Linked DNA regions of Homo sapiens: region 2 is linked to region 1. Evidence: promoter capture Hi-C in human tissues and cell types (Jung and others, 2019). All regions are on one chromosome and are shown on one strand. Each heading gives the region's core, a stretch centred on a gene start or on the middle of the fragment in contact. The rest is flanking DNA. Distances are from core to core; before and after follow the strand shown. Region 1 overlaps TPTEP2-CSNK1E (TPTEP2-CSNK1E readthrough). Region 2 holds the start of SLC16A8 (solute carrier family 16 member 8).

Evidence for each region. The method cuts DNA at HindIII sites, captures the fragments that hold promoters and counts their contacts. A contact is called where the count stands out against the background at its distance.
Region 2: a contact is called between the fragment with the promoter of SLC16A8 here and a fragment that was not itself captured in region 1, in 3 of the 25 tissues and cell types used here (dorsolateral prefrontal cortex, lymphoblastoid cells and spleen).

The regions. Positions count from the first base shown.
Region 1 is chr22:38,320,218-38,323,090 of GRCh38, forward strand. The region is part of intron 5 of TPTEP2-CSNK1E (TPTEP2-CSNK1E readthrough); the gene reads right to left. Among named protein-coding and RNA genes, the nearest start is that of CSNK1E, 4.2 kb to the left of the region's middle. RefSeq lists an enhancer at 2,057-2,848. The HindIII fragment of the contact is 6,679 bases long and covers 1-2,873 here.
Region 2 is chr22:38,082,661-38,085,533 of GRCh38, forward strand. SLC16A8 (solute carrier family 16 member 8) reads right to left here and starts at 1,524. Exons shown (of 6, transcript NM_013356.3): 1 at 1,328-1,524; 2 at 382-701; 3 at 1-221. The coding sequence starts at 213. It overlaps BAIAP2L2 (BAR/IMD domain containing adaptor protein 2 like 2), which reads right to left. Exons shown (of 14, transcript NM_025045.6): 14 at 2,240-2,715. The coding sequence ends at 2,640. RefSeq lists a silencer at 1-32 and an enhancer at 1,008-1,789. The HindIII fragment of the contact is 9,296 bases long and covers 1-2,873 here.

The DNA.
Region 1 (2,873 bases), core at 173-2,672:
GGGCACGATGGCGGGCACCTGTAATCCCAGCCACTCGGGAGGCTGAGGCAGGAGAATCACTTGAACCCAGGAGGCGGAGGTTGCAGTGAGCCGAGATCGTACCATTGCACTCTAGCTTGGGCGACAGAGCGAGACTCCGTCTCAAAAAAATAAATAAAAAACAAAACAAAACAAAAAACCCAAGGGTGTGGCAAAGTTCCCCTAGCTACCTTCTCTGCAAGCCAACAAGAAGATGAAATCAGGCTAGAATAGGTGTGGGGTGAATTGCCAGCTCCCAAGGGGCCCACCCTGGGTTTCAGCTGCTCTGCATTGGTTCAGGAATAGTGGCTCTCACAACACCTTTCCAAACTGGCTTTTGTCTTTTTTTTAGAGGCTCATTCTGTCACCCAGGCTGGAGTGCAGTGGCAGGATCATACCTCGCTGTAGCCTCAAATTCCTGGGCTCAAGCGATCCTCCTGCCTCAGCCTTCCAAGTAGCTGGGACTACAGGCATGCACCACCACACCCAGCTAATTTTTAAATTTTTTATAGAGATGGGGTCTTACTGTGTTGCCCAGACTGGTCTGAAACTCCTGGGCTCAAGTGACCCTTCTGCCTCGCCCTCCCAAAGTGCTGTGATTACAAGTGTGAGCCACTGTGTTCCCAAACTGACATTTTTTACCTGCTCCCTATTTCAGACCCTTCAAGATCACTTGGCACGCAGGAGCACTGGGCTGGGATCCCAAGGACAGCCCTGGAATTCCCAGATAATGACGATATGGCTGCAGATAAACCCAGAAAGATTTCAGTACCTGCCCCAGGAATCTCAGTCTTGACTAAGGACTCATAGATTTACTAAACATCAAGGGCTGGCCTGAAAACGGCCCTCCAGGATCTGTCCTCCACTCCCCGCACCTGGCTCTCCTGACCTCAGCTCCTGTAAGTTTTCTTCTTGCTCACAGCCCTGTAGCCTCACTGGCCTCCCATGGAATGAACCTCTGGCCTCAGGGCCTTGGCAGGGGCTGTTTCCACTGCCTGGTGCGCTCTTCCCGCAGAGCACCAACCCCCCTCACCTCTCACCTTTCTCAAGTCCCCTTCAGAGGTAGGCCCTCCTGGTCTCCCAGTTTATTTATTTATTTATTTTTTGAGACAGAGTCTGGCTCTGTCTCCCAGGCTGGAATGCAGTGGCCCGATCTCGGCTCACTGCAACCTCCGCCTCCCGGGTTCAAGCAATTCTCCTGCCTCAGCCTCCAGAGTAGCTGGGATTACAGGCGTCCACCACCATACCTGGCTAATTTTTGTATTTTTAGTAGAGATGGAGGTGTCACCATGTTACCCAGGCTGGTCTTAAACTCCTGACCTCAGGTGATCCGTCCGCCTCAGCCTCCCAAAAAGCTGGGATTACAGGTGTGAGCCACCACGTCTGGGCCCAGTCTCCCAATTTAAAATCCTGGCGCTGGGCCACAGGCGGTGCCTCACACCTGTAATCCCAGAACTTTGGGAGGCAGAGGCAGGCGTTGCTTGAGCTCAGGAGTTTGAGACCAGCCTGGATAACATGGCGAAATGCTCTCTCTACAAAAAATACAAAAATTAGCTGAGCATGGTGGCTGGGTGTGGTGGTGCATGCCTGTAGTCCCAGCTACTTGGGAGGTTGAGGTGGGAGAATCACCGGAGCCCAAGGAGGTTGAGACTGCAGTGACCCTTGATCATACCACTGCACTCCAGCCTGGACAGCAGAGTGAGACCTTGTCTCAAAAAAAAAAAAAAAAGAGTGAGACCGTGTCTCAAAAAATAAAAATAAATAAATAATTTAAAAATAATAATAATAAAGGCCAGGCACAGTGGCTCACACCTGTAATCCCAGCACTTTGGTTAGGAGGCCGAGGCAGGTGGATCACTTGAGGTCAGGAGTTTGAGACCAGCCGGCCAACATGGTGAAACCCCATCTCTACTAAAATACAAACATTAGCTAGGAGTGGAGATGTGCGCCCGTAATCCCAGCTACTTGGGAGGCTGAGGCAGGAGAATTGCTTCAGCCTGGGAGGCAGAGGTTGCAGTGAGCCGAGATCGTGCCACTGAACTCCCGCCTGGATGACAGAGCAAGATTCCATCTCAAAAAAAAAAAAAAAATAGGCCAGGCTCGGTGGCTCATGCCTGTAATCCCACCACTTTGGGAGGCCGAGGCAGGCAGATCACGAGGTTAGGAGTTTGAGACCAGCCTGGACAACATGGAAAACCCTGTCTCTACTAAAAATAAAATAATAATAATAATAATAATAAAACCCCATCCCCATGGGTCACTGCCTTCCCCTTCTCTGCTGTCTGTTTCTGTTTTTTTGTTGTTGTTGTTGTTGGTTTTTTGAGATAGAGTTTTGCTCTTGTTGCCCAGGCTGGAGTGCAATGGCGCGATCTCGGCTCGGCGTGATCTCGGCTCACCGCGATCTCGGCTCACTGCAACCTCCGCCTCTCGGGTTCAAGCGATTCTCCTGCCTCAGCCTCCCGAGTAGTTGGGATTATAGGCATGTGCCACCACGCCCGGCTAATTTTGTATTTTTAGTAGAGACAGGGTTTCTCCATGTTGGTCAGGCTGATCTTGAACTCCCGACCTCAGGTGGTCCACCCGCCTTGGCCTCCCAAAGTGCTGGGATTACAGGCATGAGCCACCGGGCCGGGCCGGGCCTCTGCTGCCTGTCTCTTTTTCTCCTGGCCTGTATCACTATTTAACATGCTCTGTAGGGAACTCCACATCACTATCTAACATGCTCTGCAGGGAATTTTTATTTTTTTGTCTGCATTCCTTACTTTGGGGTCTAAGCTGCATAAAGGGAAGGAGTTAATGCTATTTTGGGCACCACTGTATCACCAATATCTAGGATCTATTCCAGCACATAGGAG
Region 2 (2,873 bases), core at 274-2,773, 240 kb before region 1:
CGTGCCGTAGAGCATGGCTAGCATGATGGAGGACACCCAGGCCGTGTCGCTGTAGCCGGCGTCGAAGTCGCGCATGAGCGCGCGGAAGAAGACGCTCACGGCTTTGGGGAAGCCGTAGGCGAAGCCGGTGACCACAAAGCAGGCGCCCAGCACCACCCAGCCCCAGCCGCCGTCTGGGGGGCCCTCGCCCCGCCGGGGGCCGCCAGCGCCCATCGCTGCCTCTGTTGGGAGGGGGCGGGGACAAGAGGGAGGGGCTGGGCCAGCAGCCTAGAGAAGGAGGGGGATGGAGACGAAGCATGGGGAAACTGAGGCACAGGGCTACCCACGTGAGGGTGGCTCAGGTCTGGGAACCAAAAGGGGAAACGGAGGTAGGACTCTCACCCCAAGTCTCCTTCTCCTGCAAAGGGCGCTGAAGGACGAGGGGAGGACGACGGGTCCCACCTGACTCTGCACCTCTGCAGGCTCCCTCTGAAGGACAACTGCTGGCCCCTCAGGGCCTCAGGTGGAAGGCGTCGGGAAGTGGAGCAGGTATGTGCCTGGAGGTGGGCGTCCAGCACCAAAGTCGCCCCGTACGCGTGAGGGTCTCGGGACAACAGAACAAACAGCAGAGGGGCAGATGCCGGCTGCAAAGGGCCGCTGTGCGTGATTTTCCTCTTTAGCCTTCCGCCATGTTCCTAATGTTTCTCAGTGATCACAAATGACTATTGTCATTAGAACATTAAGGGGACAAAAGCCACTTTCAACAGATATCAGCCAGGGGAGCTGAGTTCCCATGCATCTCAGCTCAGCCATGGATTCCCTCCCTGACTTGGGCCGGTCGCCTCCCCTCTCCCAACCTCCCTTTCCTCCGATGTAAGATGGGTGATTGATCACCCCGAGGCCAGCTGGGAATCTTGCGGGAGAGGAGTCAGGTCTCTGGCTTCTGCCAGACAGGTAGGAACCTTAGCAGCACTGAGAGAGTGGCCTTCTGCCCTCCAAACCTCAAACCCTCTATATGAAAAGAATGGCTCCAAAGCCTGTCTCATTCCTGGGGCTCCACCCGGGGCCCTCACAGCAGTTACAAGCGCCCCCATAACAGATGAGGAGGGTGTACTCAGAGACAGGTGCACCAGGAGCCGGGGGCTGGGGATAGCCTCCTGCCCTCCTGCCTGGAGTGTCCCTCCTGGCACTGGGCAGTGCCACCACCCCCAGGGTATCCGGGACTCTGCCCCTCCTCCACTAGGACCAGGTTGTGGCTTTTCCTGCCTGTTGTCCTCTTGTCACAGGGGCAGCCACTTGAAGGTGGAGACAGGAGGGTGATCCCAGGCAGCCCTCACATCACACTCACCTGAGCCTGCCTCGTGGGTTTGGGGGTCCAGCCTCACATCTCCTGAGGCCTGCAGGGAGGGGCCGCCGCCGCAGCTCCCGGTGAAGCTTACCCGGATGGGGGCTGCCAGACACCCCAGCTTCCCACCAGCCTGGGCTGAGCCTCTGGCCGACTCCCGCCTGACGCTCCCTGCCCCAGGCCTGGAGCTTAGAGTGTGTGCCCCCACCACACCTCACCCCTGCTAAGAGGCTTTTGTCCAGGAGGGGAGAAGAGACTGGGAGCCCCAGGCCAGGCTGGGCCTCGGCGGTGGGCTCCCTGTCCCAAGCCAGTCCAGGAGGGAGGAAGAGAATCCCTGTGCCTCCTGGAGCCTGGGGTGGTAGACACAGAGACCTTGCCCAGGGGGTCCTAGTCTGGTGCTGGGGGCACAGCCCTGCCCTGAAGAGACCCCAACGGTTCTAATCACCTCAGTGCCTCATCTGCCCCCGCCCCAACCCCCCGCCCCAGGCCACATTCCAGGAGGGGCTGGCAGCTTTCTCTAGAATGAAGCTAATCCACGCCTGTGCCTGGGAATGTGGGGGGGGGAGGGGCCAAAACAAAGGGTGCTGTGTCCAGGCCGCCTGAGGGCAGCTTGCTGGTGGTCCCAGCCCTTGGCCACTGCCACCTCTCCCCTGACCCGAGCAGCCGCTACTTCCTAGGAAACCCACAGGTCGAAATGAGAGCAGGTGGAGATGGGGGCTGCAGCGCGAGGGCTTTGGGGCAGCCCTAAAGAGTTCTCCAAACAAACAAACAAGGGGCTGGGAGTGAGATGGCTTCCCGGGGAACAGCCAGGACCTCAGTACCCCCTAGACCCCATTCTCCAATGGGGGAGTCTCTATCCCTCACCCCCTGCCCTGTCCCCCAAATAAGACACCACCAGTCCTGCTGCCGCATCACTTTGCGTCCACTTCCTTTATTTCTCATCATTTACAAAAGATGTACAGAGAGGGCATGTGTTGGGCACGGAGCAGGTACAAGGGGCTCCTCCCCACGGGGGCAGAAAAGGGGGAAAGAGGTTAGGGGGCAAGAGGTGGGCCCCCCAGGGAGAGTCCTGGAGCCCCTGGAGGGGGAGAAATTGTCCTGTCCCCCCATTCCGCCTGCTTTACTTTGAAGGTCTCGGACCCCAAGCCAGTGCTTTGGAGCTGCTCAGGCTGCCGGGGTGGTCTGGGGAGGGCAGCCACCCCCCGTCTCAGGGACCCGCTTCTTGGATCTGCTGCTGTTGCTGCTGTCGCTGCCATTGCCAGCTCTGAACAGCCCCTGGGCAGGTGCACTGTGGGGTACGACCTCGGACCCCGCCTCAGCGGATGAGGGGTGCTGAGCGGTCATTGGTGATGGTGGGACGAAGCTTGACAGTGGCAAAAGGATTTGTGCCCCTGTAGGAGGAGAGAGAGAATGGGGTGAGAAGGGCAGATGATCCCCACCTGGCCATGGCTCAGGAAGGCAGCTGGGCAACTGAGCTGGGTCCTGCCTCCTGCCCCTATTTGGTCTCCATCCACTCCTTGCCCCGCTTCATCTTTTTTTTTCTTTTAAG